7 separate regions of the Homo sapiens genome follow, and all the other regions are linked to region 3. The links are contacts of gene promoters, found by promoter capture Hi-C in blood cells and fetal thymus (Javierre and others, 2016). All regions are on one chromosome and are shown on one strand. Each heading gives the region's core, a stretch centred on a gene start or on the middle of the fragment in contact. The rest is flanking DNA. Distances are from core to core; before and after follow the strand shown. Region 1 overlaps P2RY2 (purinergic receptor P2Y2). Region 2 has its middle 5.1 kb from the start of P2RY6. Region 3 holds the start of PDE2A (phosphodiesterase 2A). Region 4 holds the start of ARHGEF17 (Rho guanine nucleotide exchange factor 17). Region 5 overlaps P2RY2 (purinergic receptor P2Y2). Region 6 overlaps P2RY6 (pyrimidinergic receptor P2Y6). Region 7 overlaps ARHGEF17 (Rho guanine nucleotide exchange factor 17).

What was found. Contacts are between HindIII fragments. The CHiCAGO score rates a contact against its expected background, and 5 or more counts as called.
Region 1: a fragment that was not itself captured here is called in contact with the fragment with the promoter of PDE2A in region 3 in 1 of 17 cell types (neutrophils); the score reaches 7.1 in neutrophils.
Region 2: a fragment that was not itself captured here is called in contact with the fragment with the promoter of PDE2A in region 3 in 1 of 17 cell types (neutrophils); the score reaches 5.6 in neutrophils.
Region 4: the fragment with the promoter of ARHGEF17 here is called in contact with the fragment with the promoter of PDE2A in region 3 in 4 of 17 cell types (neutrophils, total B cells, naive B cells and 1 more); the score reaches 10.6 in neutrophils.
Region 5: a contact is called between a fragment that was not itself captured here and the fragment with the promoter of PDE2A in region 3, in 1 of 17 cell types (neutrophils). The highest score is 5.4, in neutrophils.
Region 6: a contact is called between a fragment that was not itself captured here and the fragment with the promoter of PDE2A in region 3, in 2 of 17 cell types (M0 macrophages and neutrophils). The highest score is 7.0, in M0 macrophages.
Region 7: a fragment that was not itself captured here is called in contact with the fragment with the promoter of PDE2A in region 3 in 1 of 17 cell types (monocytes); the score reaches 5.3 in monocytes.

The regions. Positions count from the first base shown.
Region 1 is chr11:73,220,211-73,222,910 of GRCh38, reverse strand. The region is part of intron 1 of P2RY2 (purinergic receptor P2Y2); the gene reads right to left. Among named protein-coding and RNA genes, the nearest start is that of P2RY2, 3.3 kb to the right of the region's middle. The HindIII fragment of the contact is 1,742 bases long and covers 399-2,140 here.
Region 2 is chr11:73,265,902-73,268,601 of GRCh38, reverse strand. It overlaps a transcript of P2RY6 not described here. Among named protein-coding and RNA genes, the nearest start is that of P2RY6, 5.1 kb to the left of the region's middle. The HindIII fragment of the contact is 2,895 bases long and covers 1-2,700 here.
Region 3 is chr11:72,672,996-72,675,695 of GRCh38, reverse strand. It overlaps PDE2A (phosphodiesterase 2A), which reads left to right and starts at 1,274. Exons shown (of 31, transcript NM_002599.5): 1 at 1,274-1,559. The coding sequence starts at 1,489. RefSeq lists enhancers at 1-50, 201-825, 826-1,452, 1,453-2,078, 2,079-2,700. The HindIII fragment of the contact is 6,386 bases long and covers 1-2,700 here.
Region 4 is chr11:73,306,889-73,309,588 of GRCh38, reverse strand. It overlaps ARHGEF17 (Rho guanine nucleotide exchange factor 17), which reads right to left and starts at 1,313. Exons shown (of 21, transcript NM_014786.4): 1 at 1-1,313. The coding sequence starts at 950. It overlaps ARHGEF17-AS1 (ARHGEF17 antisense RNA 1), which reads left to right and starts at 228. Exons shown (of 3, transcript NR_147696.1): 1 at 228-917; 2 at 1,025-1,707; 3 at 2,033-2,078. RefSeq lists enhancers at 1-318, 324-1,201 and silencers at 622-841, 1,072-1,401, 1,802-1,941. The HindIII fragment of the contact is 10,810 bases long and covers 1-2,700 here.
Region 5 is chr11:73,236,834-73,239,533 of GRCh38, reverse strand. P2RY2 (purinergic receptor P2Y2) reads right to left here. Exons shown (of 3, transcript NM_002564.4): 3 at 1-2,700. Among named protein-coding and RNA genes, the nearest start is that of P2RY2, 20 kb to the right of the region's middle. RefSeq lists enhancers at 1,396-1,690, 2,276-2,325. The HindIII fragment of the contact is 2,388 bases long and covers 83-2,470 here.
Region 6 is chr11:73,284,698-73,287,397 of GRCh38, reverse strand. All of the region lies in intron 1 of P2RY6 (pyrimidinergic receptor P2Y6), which reads right to left. Among named protein-coding and RNA genes, the nearest start is that of P2RY6, 14 kb to the right of the region's middle. The HindIII fragment of the contact is 4,518 bases long and covers 1-2,700 here.
Region 7 is chr11:73,324,320-73,327,019 of GRCh38, reverse strand. The region is part of intron 1 of ARHGEF17 (Rho guanine nucleotide exchange factor 17); the gene reads right to left. Among named protein-coding and RNA genes, the nearest start is that of ARHGEF17-AS1, 16 kb to the right of the region's middle. RefSeq lists an enhancer at 1,042-1,693. The HindIII fragment of the contact is 155 bases long and covers 1,354-1,508 here.

The DNA of each region.
Region 1 (2,700 bases), core at 20-2,519, 550 kb before region 3:
GGGCCCTTGAGGAGTACCCAGTCAGGCTGAGGAAAAAGACACAGACATGGACCAAATCCACTTGGGTGAATAAACCATAACCAAGGCAAGCCCAGGGGTTATGGAGCACACAGCAACTCCTACCTGGCCTGGGGGAGGTGGTCAGGGAGTGCTTCTGCAGAGGAGGGGTCATCTGAGCTGGAAACTGGTAGATGATTAGGAGTTTGTCAGGTGGGCAAAGAGGGAGGAGGGCTCTGAAGGCAGGAGAGGCATGAGCAAAGACTTGGTGGATGAAAGTGTGACCTGCTGGAAAAAGGCTGGGAGGTCTTATACGGCTACTGTGGAGGGTGAGGTGGCATGGAATGTGTGGGAGCCTGAGGAATTCACTTGAAAAGGCTCAAATGCCAGGCTGAAAAGCTTGGCCTCTATTCTAAGGACACTGAGGAGCCATGGAAGGCTTAAGAGGGGAAGGACATGGTCAGAGTCAACCTTTACAAAGATGGTGCCACATGGAAGGTAGATGGGACAGGGAGTCTGGAGGGAGGGAGACCAAGGAGGAGACGACACATACGGTGGTGCCATGAGAGGAGCAGGTCCCTTGGCCCTGGATTTCCTGCAACAGCCCAGCCATGGCAAGAGTCCCCCTCCTACAAGCCAGGGCTGGGTGGCTGGGCACTCACCAGGAAGCCAGGTCGACACCCAGAGGCTCTCCTCAGACCTGGGGAGGGAGAGGCCACATAAAGCCCCAGAAGTCTGAGGGAGGTCCCTTTCCCTCACTCCAGCACCCAGGCCTCTCATTCAGGAGCTACAATGACAGTGACAAGGTACCAGGGCAGAGGGTCAAGGAGTTGTTCCACGGGGCCCAGGCTGCTCACCCTCCTACCAGAAACTCCCGCTACTCATCTTGGACCAGGAAAGACTCAGGCCTAGGAGATGGGGTGATGGGGTGGAGGAACTCCTCTGCTCCAGAACCAACTATGGCACTCCGTGGAGCAAAGCCTCCCCTTCTACTCCATGCCTACTCCCGCCTGGCCACTCATTTCCCAAAGACCCACTGGCAGCTGCTCTGAGCCCAACCTGTGGTGGCTGATGGGGACAGAGAGAGAAAGCAGGTATGGCCTAGCCTAGTCCTGCAACTGGCCGCTGGATGAGTACAGAGGTCAGAGTGGCCCACACAGCCAGCCTCCTCCTATCAGGGCCCAGTAATAAGGGAAGGCCAGGCCTCAGGACCCAAGGACAACCAAGAGGAGGTGTGGCCCAGAGGGTATAGCAAGCAGGCCTACAGAAAGCAGTTTGGGGAGAGGCGGTTTGGGTGGAAGGCATGAGGGGCAACCCCCACTCCCCTCACCAGATCAACAAGGCATCTCTGGTCCCGTGGGCAGGTCTGGGCAGGCGTTACCTTATCAGCAGTTGGGTAATCTGGCCACAAGAAAGCCCCAAACACAGGTTCCCAGGGCAGAATTCAAACTCCCCTCAGCCTGGAAGCCAGAGGACCAGGCCTAACCCTAACAGGGCTCTGTCTCAGATGGGGAGGGCTAAGCTGGCAGGTGGACTGGAGCCCCAGGTTTCACCTCAGCTTGGTGACCCTGGGCAGGATACAATCCATGCCTCTATTTCCTGATCTGCAAAATGGAGATACAATTCCTCCCTCACAGGGCTATAGGAAGACAAAATGGATTGTTGTAAATCGTTACTAGTGAAGCCATCTCTGCAGAGGGGGTGGGGGAGGAAGGCATTCAGTAATCAAATTTCAATAACAAGCACAATCCCTTGCTATTGCACCCATGTTCTCTTATAGTCTTCAAAATGGATTTAAGTCTACAAGTGTCACATTCCTCCTCTGAGCACTGCAGTTTAAGGCTTATAAAGCTCTTCCCTGGTCACTATCTTAATCCTCGTAGCAACTCTGCTCTCAAAGAAGCAAGGATCACCATTCTCAATTTACAAATGGCAGAACTGACACCTAGAGAGGGACAATGGCCTCTCTAAAGACTATAGCCATTAAGTCAAAGCTCTCATGGGGTCACTCATGAGGCCCTGGTGATACCCTCACACCTTCTTAGCTGGTCCTTGGGGGATCCACAGCCTTAGAGCCCCATGCATCCAGGGCAGGAGGGAGACAGAAACAGAGGAGTCACAGCCTCACTCCACAGCCCAAGCTTGGTAGTCATTTCTGAGGGTTGCCCACTGGGATCCCCAACCCCTCTGACCAGACTCCAAGACAGCCCAAGGCAGGGAGAAGAGGAGAAAGAGCGACAAGCCTTTTGTGCCAGAGCCTCCCCACACACATACTCTCCCATGCAGGATCTTACTTGTTCTGGCCTCCTTTTAGAGCCTGGCAGGGCAGGAACTGGTCATTCAACCAGCTGGGAACAGAGCTGGGATGAGATCAATTGCAGGTCCCCAAATTCCTCAGCAGGAGCATCTGAAGGCTCAGGGAAAAGTGTTTGGCCAAGGGGCAAGGGCTCAATTAGGGTTCAAACAACTCCTGGGACAGTTCTAGTGTTGACATCACAAATGCCCTGACCTCCCTGCACTTGGCAATACTTGATCCATTCTCCATCCTGCAGCCAGAGAGCGCTTTCTGAAATGCCGCTCTGACCATGAAACACCTCTGCTCATAAATTTCCATGGCTCCCTATTGCCTTCAGGATAAAATCTCTAGGTCTTTAGCCTGGGCACTCTAGGTCCTACAGTGTCCCAGATCACACTGTTCTGGCA
Region 2 (2,700 bases), core at 118-2,617, 590 kb before region 3:
CCCAGACTGGAGTGCAGTGGTGCAAACACACAGCTCACTACAGCCTTGACCTCCTGGGCTCAAATGATCCTCCTCAGCCTCCCAAGTAGTTGGCACTACAGGCATAAGCTACTACGCCTGGCTAAATTTGTATTTTTTTTTGTAGAGACAGGGCCTTTCTAGTTTGCACAGGCTGGTATCGAACTCCTGGTCTCAATCGATCCTCCTCCCTCAGCCTCCCAAAGTTTTGGGATCACAAACGTGAGCCACCATGTCTGGCCAGGGCTAGGCCTTCTTGCTGAGCCACAGAGGTTTTCCCTCTCTGCAGCCTGAGCCCCTCATACTGTCCAGAGTCTGGGGTCTGCTGTTTGCCTTCCATCATAGGAAACCACAGAGAGGCCACAGAGACCTAACAGAGTTGTAAGGAGCACATGCCTGTGGGTGCAATTCTGCACTGGTGCATGCACAGCACACCCAGCCCCGGAAACAGCTCCACATAACTCACACAGGTTCACACATACATATGCACACGTGCCCTGGCACCTGCCACACTTGGGAACACACCACCCACGGCAGGCACGCAGGCACCATCACATGCATGGACCCACTTCCAGCCAGCTTACATAGTGTTCTAGCTTAGCTCAGCAGCAAGTTGCATGTGAAGAGCTTTCATAACCAGGAAAGAGATGGGAGAGGAAGAGCTGAGTCCTTGGATGCCCAAGCCCTTCCTTTGCCCCTCCCAGAGAAGCTAACAGGTTTCCCCAAGAACACAGATGGTTTGTCTGGCTCACCCTCTTCAGCCATCCCACATAAGTCCTGGTCAGAATACTCACAGAAAGTAGGCAAAGGTTTCTATGGGAGGATTGTCCCCAGCTTGCTCAGTCAGCTACCAGTCCTGCTTGTCGCCAGCTCAAGGCAAGGTTTTAAGCTAATCACTGTGAATTTTGGAGCTCTCCACCCCCCAGCCTATGCTGAGTTCAGACATGGCTGTGCATCAACGATGCTGCTCCTGCTGGCTCCACAGGAGTCTTTTCTACAACCTGAGGTCTCTCAGAGAGAATGAGGTTTGCCTTTGAGGTCTCTTCAGCCCCATTTCTTGTTCTCTCTCTCCTTCCTTTTGATGGCCTTGCAAGGTGCCCAGTGACTCCACAATTCCCTCATCCTGAGGGGTGCCTACAATCCAAGATCTGAACCTTTCTCTGCTCTAGGGCCACCGTCCCCTGAGAGCTGTGAGGTACTCCCAGCAACTCTGCTGCTCTGATGAGGAGGGGCCTCTGGGTTCACTGTCATCCACCCCAGAGAGCATATGGCCATTTTACCAGGCACCTGCCTCTACTCCAGGCTGGCTTAGGCAGGGAGGAGACCTTTTCTGGGGCTTCTCACATGATTCTGCTGAAGTAACCTCTTCCTTGGGAGTTTATAAGTTTACAAGAGTCAGACTGCCAAAGCCAGGGCCAGAATCCTCCAACATTGGAGCCAGAATTGGGGAATGTTACAGCTTTGGAGTGTAGAAAGTTGGAGTTCGAATTGTAGACTTCTAGAATGTTTGAGTAATTATAGACTCTTAGGGCTAGGGGTGTGGAATTATAAACAATTATAGCCAGAATTGGGGATTAAAGGAAATCAGGGCCAGAAGTGACGACAGCATCACTTGGTCCCACCTCCCTGACAGCTAAGAAGACAGCTGGCCTTATCACTCAGAAAGTCAGGGCTGGGCCAGGCCTCCTTCTCCCCAGGAGGGCTCTGTCCAGACCTTCCAGAGAAGCTCTCAGGGCCTCTGGGGCAGCAGTACTCCCTGTTAGGGACAGTGGGGACAGTGGCTTGCCTCTGTGGTGCCCGAGGTTGCACTGGCCCATCATGGCACCCCGTCACCATGAGATATATTTAGGTTCCCTCCCCAGATGTTTCCACAGCTCCCAACACTGCCTTTTATGTCCCCTTGTCCTCCAAGGCCTCCGGGCAACTCCTCTAAACTGACTCAATGAAGTCAACAGGAACAGGGGCACTTGCTCTGCCAATGCAGAAGTTTTAGCCCCAGAAACAAGGCTCAGCCTGCGGGGAGCCTCCTGGTCCACTTCTGCTTGCAGCTCAATGCTGACCTCACAGCCTCCCTTTCAGCTCTCAGGGCCTGTCTTGGTCCAGGGACTAATATTCCTGATCCTGTACTGGACTTTCCTCATTCCAGGCAGAGGGCAACCCAGGCTCCTGCCCCTGCCAGTTCCCAAACACACACATACACAGGGCCAGCATTTTTCGGTTCCTCCAGGGTTTGTCAGGACTGAGAAGCCTCCATCCAAGCCCATGGCTGCCCCTGCATTTCTCCCCCAACCTCTCTCCCACGCTCCATCCCAGGCTTTGACAGAGACCTGCATTGTCCTCTCCCAGACTGCATCTTCCCAGGAAGCAGGTGGTCACTGAGAATTCAACAAGGATTCAGTCTGGGAATGGGAAAGGATCCCTCAGAGATACTCAAATAGGGACTCTCTGATTCCTACCCACACAGCTTATTGGAATCACTGGCTCTGTGAAAACTGAGAGTTCCTGGGGTGGGCAGGGACCCAGTTGTGTGGGGGTCACCATTACTATCATCATAGTTTTGTCACCAGCTGTTAGGATTTCTATGTATCAGAGATTGTGCCAGCCACTTAATATCCAGGCACTCAGTCAGTCCTAAAAATAACCTATGAGGCAAATACTATCCACATCTACATTTTACAAAGG
Region 3 (2,700 bases), core at 25-2,524:
GGAGGGTTTGCTGTAGCTCCTCTACCCTGGAATATACCCTCTTCTGCCTTAAAAGACCCAGCTTGGACCCTCTCTTCCAGAAATGCTTGCTAACCGCCCCCCCACCACCCAAACTAGGTCAGGGGTCCCTCTGGGCTTCACAGACCCTGTGCTTCTTTCTGTCACAGCCTGCAAGTCTCCCCTCCCCACTCCCCAGCCCGAGTGCTTCTCTGAGACAAGGGATAGTGTGAGCCATGAGCTCAGCCACTGGTAGGCCAATGAATAAGTAAGTTAATGGTGAAGCCAGGATCCAAATCCCCATTTCCTGCCTCAAGGTGTGGAGCTGTTTCTCCTGCATACAATAGTAGCTCTGCTGTGACAACTCTCTATCTGTCCTAGGGCCTAAAATGCCTCTATTTCACTAGGTTATAGCTTTATCCTAGGGAGTCCTCTTTGGAAGCAGGGTGGGGGTGCAACAGGCCTTCCCCCATGCCTGTAGTCTGTGAGCAGCGAAGGCCATGTGGGGCAGGCTGTGGCCTAGGTCTCCACAGATCCTGGTAGAAGTCCATGCTCACGCATCAGCTCCAAGTCCCAGCTAAACCAAGCCACCAAGAGGTGGGCCCTGTGACAAGGCTCTGAGTCCAAAGGCCATCAGTAAAGCCCCCTAAGTCTTCCGTGGACCCAGCTCCAGGCTGGGATGCACGCTAGGAGATGATACACACCGGGTGAGGGAGCCCAGAGGAGAGGGCAGCTAGCTGTGCATGGAGGCCTGATCTCTCAGACTTGAGGGCACAAGCGTGTCCCCTCATCCTGAAGGCTTCTGCGATGGGGCAGCAGAGGGTCTGGGTCTGCTGCCCCTCAAGTCCCCAGCCCCATCCTAGCCCATGAGGATTGTAAATCCCTCGTCCTCTCCCCTCTCTCCTCTGTCAGCCACTCCCCTTTCCCCCTACCCCACTCTCTTTCTATTTCTGCCTCTGATTTTTTTTCCTTTTCTGCCTTTGTTCCTCTGTGTGTGTGTTTCTCTATGCCTCTCTGGTCTCTTTGTACTTCCATCTTGATCTCGCTAAGGCTCTGATCCCTCTCTCCTCTCCCTCTTCATGTGTTACTGTCCCCCTTCCTGTCTCTGTTTATCTCTCAGTCTCTCTGTCTGTGAGTCTTTTTTCCTCTCTCCCAGTCAGACTCTCTCTCTACCCCTCCCTCTCTCCCTCTCTCCCTCTCTGTCTGGGCCTCTCTCTGTTCCTCCTCCCTCCTCCCTCCCCCTTCTGCATTATCAGACCTGCTCCAACCTCCTCCCAGAGCCAGCCGAGCAGCAGAGGCAGTGGCAGCGGGAGAGGCGGGAGCAGCGGGGCAGCAGAGCTGGATTGGGGTGTTGAGTCCAGGCTGAGTAGGGGGCAGCCCACTGCTCTTGGTCCCTGTGCCTGCTGGGGGTGCCCTGCCCTGAACTCCAGGCAGCGGGGACAGGGCGAGGTGCCACCTTAGTCTGGCTGGGGAGGCGGACGATGAGGAGTGATGGGGCAGGCATGCGGCCACTCCATCCTCTGCAGGAGCCAGCAGTACCCGGCAGCGCGACCGGCTGAGCCGTGAGTATAGTGAGGGGCTGGGGTGGTGAGCGGCTGTGAGAGGTGCCACAGACAGGGTCCTGGGAGTCCCTCCAAGGAGCTGGGGTTGGCATGGAGCTGAGCCACGTGGAAGGATCGATCCTGTTCCTGGGCACCCCTCCTCCCCGCGTTGCCAGACTGCAGCCTGGGGTGGGGGCAGGTTACCTCTGAGCAGAATGAGGGTGTCTAACGTCAACCTAGTAGGTGATGAGGCTGGGGTCCCATGGAAGGGGCTGCTGGTTGGAGGAGGGGCTGATAATGAACCTGAACCGGTTCTTCAAGGGCTGAGGGTGTATGTGGGGAGGGGGAGGTCTGCCAAGTAGTTGGGAGGAGCTCTCGGGGCTGCAATAGGCTGGTTCAGGACCCGGAGAGGGAGAGTGTCTTGGCCCACCAAGGCTATGTGTGTGTGAAGGAGGTGGGGAGGGGGAAAGATGGAGAAAATATGAATAAGAGTGGCCCTGGAGCAAGAGAGGGTTAGAGGTAACCACCTTCCATGGAATTGGGAATTGGGGTTCAGGGACACCACTTTATGAAACTTTACCCCAAAGCGTCTGTCCCAGGATAGGGTTCTACGGAGCCAGATGGAATATGGTGCCAGCCTCGTGTGTGTCCACGTGCAGGGGGGTGCATGTGCAAGTGAGTGGGGGGCGCCGTGGCGACACCCCTCTACTAAGGGCTGCCGAGGTGGTAGGCAGGGTATGTGTGTGTGTGTGTGTGTGTATACATGTGGAATGTAAGGGACATGTTGGGTGTAGAGGGGCCTGTAGAGCTCTAGGGTCCTTGGTGGTTGGATGTAAAGCAGCCTGTCAGAGTTTGTGATCATCCCTGTGTGAGTGAGAGTTTATTCGCATGTGTCTGAGTGTGAGTGCAGGTTGGTCTGCATATGTATGTAGGTGTGTCTATTAGGTTGAGTTTGTATATTATGTGTGTTGTGTCTGCAAAATAGAGTGAATCAGTGTGCATTTTTTATCTGTTCCATGTGCATTTATGTGTGTGTATTTGTTAGTGTGTGAATAATAGCATTGCTGTGTGTGGAGGTGGATGTGGCTGTGTGCGTATAAGTATTCTGGTGTGGGTGTGTGATCATGGTGCTAGTGTGTATATCGGTGCTTCTGTGGCTGGT
Region 4 (2,700 bases), core at 64-2,563, 630 kb before region 3:
CTGCTTAGATTTAACCCATCACTGTCAGGCCTGCAGTCCTGATCCAATAGGGAGCTTCCAGGCCTGAGCCCGGGCCTCCCTCCCCAGCGGTGGCCGCCCTCACCGTCTCGGTCGTCGTCACTGCCCGAGGAGTGGCCGCCGTGGTAGGCCGGACTCTGGGCTCCAGGCAGCTGCGGCGGGCCCTCCTCTTCCTCCTCGCTGGAGCTGGCAGCACGACTGCGGCTGACAGGATAGGAGGCGGCGATGGAGGAGGAGGAGCAGGAGGCCCGGGCCCCGGCCTGCGGTTGGGAGAAGATATGCCAAGAATGTAAACCATCCGCTGGACGCTGCGCCCGCTCCTGTTGCTGCTGCGGCCGGCGCAGCCTCCCTTCGGTCTCCGGCCCGGTCAGGGGCCGCGCCGAACGCAGACCCGCCAGGGGGAAGCATGTCCGAGGGGGTGGCGTCGGTGGCTGCCGCGACTCCCGAGCCGGAGGCTCCCACGCGGCACCGTCGGGGCTGGGCGTTCCTGGGGATTCAGAGTCGGCGCTGGGCCTCCTGGAGCCAGGACCGCCGAAGAGCTTGCGCATCTCGGTGACGCTGGGCCAGGCTCCTCGCGCTGGGCCCTCGGCCGCTTCTTCCGCGGCCGCGGGTAAGACGCCTCCGTCTCGGGTCCCAGCGGAGCCGTCGTCCAGACGCGGCGCGTCGAAGCGCCGGGAGAGCTGGCGAACCGACGGCGAGAGGCTGCGGAGCGGGCGCGGCTGCGCGGGGGCGGCCAGGGGCCCAGACGCCAGCTTGGACACGCGCCGAGAGGGCTGGCCCCGGGCAGCCGTGGTCGGCCGGCACGAGGCGCGTCGCCTCAAGCCGGGGGTGTCCGTGTCCTCCTCCCTCAGCCCGGGGCCGCCGCTCCAGCGCTCCAGCAGCTTGAACGAGACGCTGCGGTAAAGCTGGGGCCGGGGTGCCCCGTCCGCCATAGTGGCGTAACTCACTCCGGGGGGGCTGGCCTCGGGCAGCCGCGGCCAACCCCCCCTGCGCCCCCACTCCCTAGGAGCGCAGCGGCCCACGCCGAAAGCAGCGCACGGGAGTGTGGGAAGAGGACGCAGAGACCGGAGCAGAGGTTTCTCTGCCGCGGCTCAAGTTTCTGTGGCCACCGGCCGCAACGTCTCCATCCCGGGCGGCCCCTCCCGCCTCAGCGCCGACCCCCAGGCCCAGCCCCCGCCGCGGCTGGAGCGACCAGGGGCACCGCGGCACCGCCTGGGCGGGATCCCAGCGCTTGGTTCCTCGACTCTGCGTCCGCCTGCCCAACGCCCTTGGCTGCTCGCTCCTGGCACCCTTTTGTTGCAAATAAACTTTGCGGCAGAGGCAAGGGGGCGGGGGGCGGGGCCTCGCGCCCAAAAGAGGGGGTGGGCTCCGGGCGTGCGCGAGCCTGGGAACCGCGTGGTGGGAGGGAATCAGGGAGGAGCCGAAGAAGAAAAAGCCTGCTGGAGGACTTGCAGACTGAGGCGACCCTCTGGCCCTCCAGAGAGGTCCCTCGGGAGCCCAGCAGGCCGAGCTGCCCCCAGGGAGTCGCTGAGACACACACAACCGCTGAGCGTGCTCAGCTCCGCAGACTCGCAGCCAGGGCGCCGCGTCCACCGCGGGCCACCAGCCTCCGCGCGGAAACACCTCCTGCCCAGGGGCTCCAACATGGCAACCTCGGACTCACAAACTCTCGTACACACTGACACTCAGGTGCACGCAGACGCACACTCTCTGGGCCGGGAAAGGGGTGGGACTCGGCGCCAGGGAGAGCCCGGGGAGCCGCGGGCTAACTGAAGGGTCCGTCGCGCCCTACTCCCCGCCCAGGCCACGCCTCCTCCCCTTCCCTCCCCCTCCCCGCCCGCCCTCTGCGGCGAATTTAGCTGTAGCCACGCCCTTGTCCCCCCATCTCGCTCCCAAGCGCCCCGCCCATCCCACCTCCCAGCCGCCTGTCCGGCTCCGACCGGCCCCCAACCCGCCCAGCGTTGCTCCAGAAGTCCCACCCTTCACGACCGCGCCCCCACCCCTACTTTTCCAGCTGCCACGCCTTCCACCTGCCCCTGCAGTCTGGCGGCTCTTCTCCTGGACTCTCCGCCTGGATCCCCGAGCCTTTTCTTCTTGCTCTGGAGTACGCGGCTCTTGCGCCCCCTCGCGGCGTGATTTTCCCAACGCACGGAGTCCTGGACGGATAAAGCAGCACCCATCCCCCAAAAACGGAGAGTTGTGAAAACTTCCTTTCAGTCGTTACCTAATCCCCTTAGTCTTTTTCAGACCTTCGCAAAGCGCACTGCCCCTTCTTAGGCCTTATACACAAAAGGAGCTTCGACGGGAACGCCCTCGACTTCCCACTGCCAAACCTATACTCTTACCCGCAGCTGCTTCACCTTCTTGGCAGGAAAAGTGTCGGTTGTTTCTCTGGCTTCACGCTGATCCCTCGCTTGAGCTCCCCTCCCGCCCCTGCCTCCGTCTGAGTCTCACATTGTTCTCGGTATTGGGGCATCATCCCCTTCCGCATTCCCACCTGCCTCTAGATCCCATTCATCCTCCCGGCCCAACTAACGAATGAACGAACGAATGAAAATGTATGGAGTACCTATAATGTATGGGCAATATTATTTAACTTATTTTTTAAAATCCACAAACCACCCTTGGGGACAAATATTATTACCCCTTCTCTGTGGACCGTGAAGGAGAAGTAACTTTGAC
Region 5 (2,700 bases), core at 27-2,526, 560 kb before region 3:
ACCCCAGTCAGGGAGAAATGGCTACCCTGCTGCCGTGGGAGGGTGCGAGCTCTCTAGCCTGAAGTGGCAAGTTTCTGAAGCTTGCTACTAGGGGCCCCCTCTTCCTCCTCTCCATGCTGCCCTCCCACAGCTGGGCACCTGGACAAGGTTCTGTAAACAGCACAGGCCCATGGTCCTGAAATCCACCTACTGCCAAGCAGGGCAGAGGTGGTCCCACACATTCCCCCAGGACAGACCTGCTTCCCTCCTCCCACACCCCACGGGGGTTCCCTGGAGACGTATGGCCCACTGTTGCTCACTGGCCAGACACACTGTCCTCTCCTTCAAAACATGTATCCCAATGTGGTTACGTACTAAGTGATGTCAACTCTGTGAGGGCAGGGCCCAGCTGATTTGCCTCCATAGCCCCCGGCCTGGTGCCAGGCATATAAATGCTGACCACACACCAGGCACTGTGAGGAGGACTTTGTGCGTAATAACGTAGGGAAGCCCCTCAACGCCCTGCATGGAAGGTAGCAGCACACTTTAGAAATGGGAAAACTGAGGTGCTGCAAGATTAGGTAACTTGCCCAAGAGACCCCAGCCAGGAAAGTGGGGACAATATTGACACTGAGGTGGTCTGGGTGGAGCATCTGTGTTCTCACATCCTTGCTACACTGCCTCTGTCATCTTGAATCATGCGAGGGGCCACTTATAGACCCTTCTGCCCTGCAGGGCTGTGAGTGTCGTGGGGCACTATAAAGGGCATGATTCTGGCCATCAGGTGAACCTGGACTCACTCTGACTCACCCTGACAGCCTGGATAACCTGGAACAAGTCCTCACTTCTCACGCCCTTCTCCTGTTTCCTCATCTGCTAAATAGGATCATAGCATCTACTTCCCAGGGCTTCTGTGAAGCATCCACCATATAACATAGATGAGAGGGTGCGTGGGACATGGGTCAATACACGACTTCCCTCCCTCATGTGCCTGATTCTAAACAGAGCAGCCCAAATCTGCCATGACAAGGGTGACAGAGAGGTAGCTTTGGTGACTTGACCTGGAGCAACCATGTGTGGATAACATGTTGCTTAGGGCCTCTTCTAACCTCAGGGGGTGAAAGTGGGAATGTACCCTGGGGTTCCTCCATCCCTCCTGGACCCTGGGACACCTGCCACCCAGGGCAGAGACCCCTGTGTGCCAGGGACCCTGCCCTGATGTCATGCAGTTCATTGAGAACAGCTGCTGCAGGCACATCAGCAGACATTTACTCCCTGACACTCAACTCTCTACCCTCCCTTTCCTCCCATCCCTGTCCTGTCCCTGGCCTCAGGTCTATGGCTCCATCCCAGTCACCCTGGGCAGGAAGAGCTGGGCAGTGTGAGTGACAGCAGGATCGTCACCAAGGCACTTGCTTACATCCAGGCGCCACGCTGACCTGCTGAATGACCTTGGGCTCAGCCCTGCCCATCTCTGGCCTTGAGTCTGCAGCTGGGCTGGATAATCCCTGGGGTCTGCTCAGTGGATGGGCAACTCACGTGCCCTTTCACAGTGGCCTTCATGAGTCAACAGCCCAGGAAGTGATGTCAGGTTAGGGAGGTGTGAAGGGGGCAGGGAATATTGGAGGGTAATAGGAGATATTTTGAGGGCAGGCAGATCCCCTCACGTCACTGCTGGACAATGGTCTGGGGCCAGGAGTGGAAAATTATGGTCTTACTTGGGCTGAAAATAGCATGAGGCATCAGGGCAGGAACTTCACCCACAAGGCAAGTGGCCTGGGCACTGAGCAGCAAGGTGGGACGTGCATACCAAGGGGCCAGGCAGTCCAACTGGGTTCCAGAGGTGCCCCTGGTTCACCCAGGGTCTCCAGTATCCACCCCCACCTGTGCCTGCCACAGGATTAGATGGTGAACGAGCCCCTCCTGTGTCCTTGTGGAGTGGCTCGGGCCTGTGGGAAAGGCTCAAGGGTGGTTTGTAACAGGCAATCATTAAGAAAGCTCAAGAGGGGCCGGGTGCGGTGGCTCATACCTGTAATCCCAGCACTTTGGGAGGCTGAGGCAGGTGGATCACTTGAGGTCAGGAGTTTGAGACCAGCCTGGCCAACATGGCGAAACCCTGTCTCTATTAAAAATACAAAAATTAGCCAGGTGTGGTGGCGCATACCTGTAATCCCAGCTACTTGGGAAACTGAGGCAGGAGAATTGCTTGAACCCGGGAGGCAGAGAGTTGCAGTGAGCCAAGACCGCAGCACTGCACTTCCAGCCTGGGTGACAGAACAAGACTTCGTCTCAAAAAGAAAAAAAAAACTCAGAAGGACATCGGCTACATTAACAGAAGTATAGAACCTAGAAGGTGAGAGGTGAATAGCTCACACTATTCTGGGCAGGTCACCCACCTGGCACAGTACAGAGTAATCATTTGGGTCATGGTCTGTGATGGGTCTCTGTCACATGAGGGCGCTGTGGAGTCAGGCTCCAAATACAGCAAGCTTTGGGGATGTCCTGCCTTTCACAAGGCAGAGTGGGAAGGGTGGAGAGGTCAGAGGGGGCAGGCAGAGTGGGCCACAGGGCGAGGGCTCTCCCAGAGGGAGAGGAGGGAGTCCCTGTCCTTGAGATCAAGAGTGAGGCCTGTCAGCTTTGCCCTGTCCCTTTCCAAAGGCTAGGGCGGGGCCCTGTCCAGCTGAGCGCCACACGTCAGCCCAGAGTGGTCCTGGCTAGACT
Region 6 (2,700 bases), core at 113-2,612, 610 kb before region 3:
CCAATGAGAGAAGAGTGGGCCCCTCAGGCCTGTAACTGGCTCAGGGTGGAGGAGTGACCTTCACTGCATGCCTCAGAGTCAATTCTGGCGCTTTTACTGGGGCATCAGGAAGGAGACAGGTCTTCCACAATATTTGCAAAGTTAGTAGAAAGTGAGGCAGGAGCTGCTGGAGCCAAGTGAACTAAGTTCCAGGCATTGTCCTGGGCGACGGAGATACTGCCACCAGGGAGGAGACTATCCACATAGAAAGCCAAGGAATGGCAGAGATGAGAGATGGGGATGCATCGTTTCCTGAGAACAGCATTGAGTGCCTGGTTTCAGCTGTGCCTGAGGTTTTACCTTTGGTGTCATGAGCTGATAAACTCCCTTTTTGCCTCAATCCATTTAACCTAGGATTCTGTCACTTGAAACTAGGAGTCCTGCCTGTAGATCTGCACCTTGTGCCCAGGAAGACAGGTGACATTTCCCTACGAGAAAACTGAGGCCAGAGAGGTTAGGAACTTGCCCAAAGTGCACTATAAATCCACCATGATACCCTGTCTCTCAGGAAGAGTGGCTTAAGAAAGGACAAAGAAATGGAGGTCAAGAGTCAGGGCAGAGAAGAAGACCAGTCGAAGGGGCGGTGTCAGACTCCCTCCCTTTCCTTCTCTAACTCTGCTAGGAACAGGGGACAAGGTCTGCTTTGCCTCTGGAGCCTCAGAGACCAGTATAGGCTTTGGCCCAAGAGGCACTGGGAAATGTTGGATGACTGGATCCAGTCTATAAAGATGAGCGCCGGGGCTCTGTCCTCGGTGCTGCCTGGTTCCATTTTTTTTTTTTTTTTAAATCTTTGTCTTGACTGATGACAGAGAAGATTTGTCAAGGAGAATGAAGGTAATGGGTTCAGGAGTAGCACCTCTGAGACTGCTTGGGTCCCCCAGTCCCCACCTCAGGAAAGGCAGACCACTAACCCCGCCAAGTGGTTATTGTGGGTTATGATCCTGCCCATTTCCCAGGCAGACCCTGAGGCCCGAAGGTAGGCAGTTTTGTCCACAACTCGTACAGGTAAGGTTTGGGTGTGGAAGGGGAGCCTCAGGGAACTCCTCCCCTCCCGTGAAAGGCAGCCCCTGCCTTGATTCCTGTTCTGATCATCCCTAGCTCTTCCTGGGGCCTGAGCCCACCTGGCAGTGATAAGACGTCCAGCTGGACCCAGGGGTCAATGACAGGCCTCTGAGTTCTGGACCCTCAGGGCTAGGGAGGCCTTAAGGTCACCTGACCCAGAGGTCTCCCCATCATCCCCTCAGAGAAGGGGGCTCTCTGAAGCCTCCCTGACTGGGCTTGTTTGGCCCCTGCCTGCATACTTCCCATTGCAGGGAGCTCACTCCTCTCCTAGGCCACTGCATTCCACCTTGAGAAAGCTCACTGGGAGATATGCTTTGTCACACCAAGCCCCAAGATCTGTCCCTAGTGACTGCTCTCCCACACCAGTCCAGCTTGCCTCTGGGGCCATATAGCTTGGCTGCCCCAGGACACCCTGCAGAGGTTGTCCCAAGACCATCCATCTATTGGTCTTCATTCTCACCAGGCAATTTCAGGCACATGTCCAGGTCCCAGGAGACCTAGTGGTGGATCCTCAAGGATGAGGCCGTGGTCTGTGGCTGTTTTCAAACCTGAAGACAAAACCCTTTGCTACCCTCTGTCCTGTTTCATTGCCTGCCTGGGGCCTGTAAGGGGGGCATAGTCTCTTCTTTTGGGAGGAGGAAACTAAGGCCCCCAACAGCTTAGTTACTTGCCAGGGCCACCAATCCGTCAGTGATCTTCCAATCAGCAGGACTGCCTGTCGCCAAACCCCAAATCTTCACCCTCAAACTGGCCTGTTTGTGGCCAGTCCAGTGTGGGAGGAAGAGGACTTTGTGGGTGTCCAAGGGGTGGCCTGGGAGGAAGAGATCAAAGTAAGGGGCAACTACCTCATTCAGAGTGCAATGTAGGAGGTCAGCAGGCAACAGTGGCTCCTGCTGTGGAGTGTGCATGAAGAACACAGGACAGGCCGGGTGTGGTGGCTCACGCCTGGAATCTCAGCACTTTGGGAGGCCAAGGCGGGAGGATCACTTGAGCCCAGAAGTTCGAGACCAGGCTGGGCAACATAGAGAAAGCCTGTCTCTACCAAAAAATGTTTAAAAATTAACTGGATGTGTTGGCGTGTGCCTGTAACCCCAGCTACTTGGGAGGCTGAGGTGGGAAAATCGCTTGAGCCTGGGAGGCCAAGGCTGCAGTGAGCTATGATCACACCACTGCATTCCAGCCTTGGCTACAGAGCGAGACCCTGTCTCAAAAAAGGGACGTAGGACAGACCCCCTCAGGTGGTCACTCGAATGATACCTTCTCCATGGGACCTTCTCCTACCACTCTAAGCTAAAATTATAAACCCCTACGCAACGCATGTGCATGTGTGATTCCTACGCCCCTTCTCTGCTATATTTTTCTCCTTAGCATTTAAAATCTTTTAATACACTGTTCTACTTATTTATTGGTTATTGTCTCTCTCTCATGACTGAACATAAACTCCACCAGGGCAGGGGTTTTCGTGTTTTTTTTTCACTGCTGCATGTACTTAGGACGGTGTCTGGCATATAGTAGGTTCTCAATAAATATTTGTTGAGTGAATGAACAAATAAATTCCAGACGTGGTTCAATTATGTCTACACAGAGAGGACTGGGTGC
Region 7 (2,700 bases), core at 182-2,681, 650 kb before region 3:
AGGGAGCCTGGCTGGTTGCCCTTCTGAGCCTGCAGAGACACTGAAGGGAGAGGCTTGTCTCACTCTAACGCCTCCCATCAGGGAGGGCTTCCCTCTTTCCACAACAGAGATTTCCTGACTGAGTCCTGAAAGCTCCATGGAAATACATGGCGTGAGATGTGGTCCAGGGGGCAGACATGACCCTACTTTCACTTAAATCAATGAGATCAGCCTGCTTTATACTTCTGTGTCAAGATTCCTCTAGAAGAAAAGGTTCCACTATTTTTATTTTTATTCATTTATTTATTTTTTAATTTTTTGAGACGGAGTTTCACTCTTGGTTGCCCAGGTTGGAGTGCAATGTGCAATCTCGGTGCACTGCAACCTCTACCTCCTGGGTTCAAGCGATTCTCCTGCCTCAGCCTCCCGAGTAGCTGGAATTACAGGCGTATGCCACCAGGCCCAGCTAATTTTTGTATTTCTAGTAGAGATGTGGTTTTACCATGTTGACCAGGCTGGTCTTGAACTCCTGACCTCAGGTGATCCGCCCTCCTCGGCCTCCCAACCTCGGCCTCCCAAAGTGCTGGGATTACAGCCGTGAGCTTGGAAATTACCACTCTGGGATCAAGTCCAGGCTTTTAGGCCTGGCCTTTAGGAACTCCCGGGGCCCACCTGACCTCTCCAGAACCAGGGAGCTTTCATGGTACCCCAGACACACCAGGGCTTCTCCATCACAGGCCTCTACCTTTGCAGTTCTCTCTCCCTGAAGGGCCTTGGCTCATTTCTGCCTGTCAAGGTCTGGCTAGTCCTTCAAGATTCCAGCCACTGCCCTAAGTTAGCCTTCCCTGCCCTCACCCTTCTTGGCCTCCTTCGACCCCCAGTTCTCAGATGGGGCTTCTTGGGTCAGGAACCCCTTCTCCTTCACCCTGCGGCCCCCATGCTAACCCTGCACATACAGGCACCAGTGGGCCACAGTGCAATTGAATTTTAAAGGTTCCCCTGGGTTCCCCCAACCCGCCACTCAGAGCTTATTTCAGCGTTAATTATCCAAGACTAGTTAGAAAAGGTAGAAGCATCTGTGCAGTCAGGGCTCAGTCAATCCACCAATGACAGTGAACACCCCGGTTCTCAGTCAAATGGCTGGGCTGTCCCATGGGAGCAAGGTCTGCTCCCAGGCAGGAAGCGGCCTAGGCCCTCTCCCCACTCACCAGGCTCTGGCATCCACTGCCCAGCCCCGCCCCTTGCTGGACACTCAGAGGGTGGTACAGGAGCAAATTGCTCTGTTCACATCTCTCCAGATGGATAATGCCTGTTTATGTTACTTGTTGACATCTGGCTGCCCCAATCTACTCCAACTTTGCTGTCATCAAAGCTTGCTCCAGGGAAGGTCTCAGGCTCGGTCCTCACTCCTGATATCTGTACAGATGTCTTTGTGGGTATGGAAATCTGCTGGGGATTGAAAAGTGAGAAAGTGAGAGAGAGAGAGAGAGTGTGTGTGTACAATGCCTATATGCGATGCTCCTCAAGCTTTGCCTGTGTTGAGATGGGTGGGGGTTTGCTGTCAGCTTACCCCACAGTGTGGGAACTGTTGGTTTCAGTGTGCTCCCCTCCAGCCCGCAGGCTCCAGCAGGGCTCCTCTCTACATCTCCAGCCCAAGCACAGGGCCCAGCCCTGGAACGAAATTTCTTCCCCAGCACCCACAGCCCAGGCCTGGCCACACAGGAAGCGACCTGATGACTGAGGCCCAAGAGTTCAACTCATGGGACAGGACTCAGGGCTAGGGGCCCAGAGGGAGACAGGGCAGGAGGCTGGGGGTGGGGGAGGTTTGGGCTGGCTGCGGGTCTGGGCCTCTCTGGGCTCTTTGTCCAAATATGGAAGGTTTTTTTGTCTCCATTTGAGTCACGCCGGCCATGGCCCAAGAGATCTGCTTTCCAGATACTGCAAACGGGACTGCACTGCACTGCCTGGCCTGCCTGTCTCCCCTTCACCTGCCCGTGGCCCATCTCTCCACCTTCCCAAACTCCTGGGCTGAGTTCTCTCCGCCAGCAGAAAGCCCAGCACCCACCTCAGCTGCTTTCCAGCACCAAGAGAAGGGTCCCTGGGCCCATAAAGGGAGGAAACACTCATTCCTTCTGTGCCTGTCACCTCCTCCCACTCCCCAAGGGCCTCTCAAGTGCAACTGAGCCATTCAACTAATATTTACTGAGCAACTACTATGTGCTGGTTCCTGGGACTCAGACCATGGACTGTGAATCCAGTAGGATCACTATGTCCAAAGCAAAATCCACCCTTTCTTTCTGTGCCCACCTTGATGATGGCACTGCCCCCAACTCAGGCAGTCCTGAAAGCCAGGGGCCTAAGCACGGGTTCTGGAGCCAGACCATCTGGGTCTGAACTCCAACCCAGTGAGACTATCCTGGTTTGAATACCACCTCTCTCTTTCTGGGCTCTGTGACCTGAGCTAAGCACCCTCACCTTCTCTGGGCCTGTGTCTGCTTCCCATCCCACCCCCAATCAGTGCCGACTCGGGACGGCACCCTTTGCCCATCTGCCAGCTTCCACCTGCCTGGTCCCCAGGACAGCAGCAACATAGGGCTAGGCATAGGCATGGGTGGTAAGGGGAGCTGAGAGGAGCCTGGGCGCTCCCCCAGGGCAGGGCTCAGCTGTCCTCCTCCTGCCTCCCCCACATTATTTATTTAATAAACGTGTACCCAGGCTCCA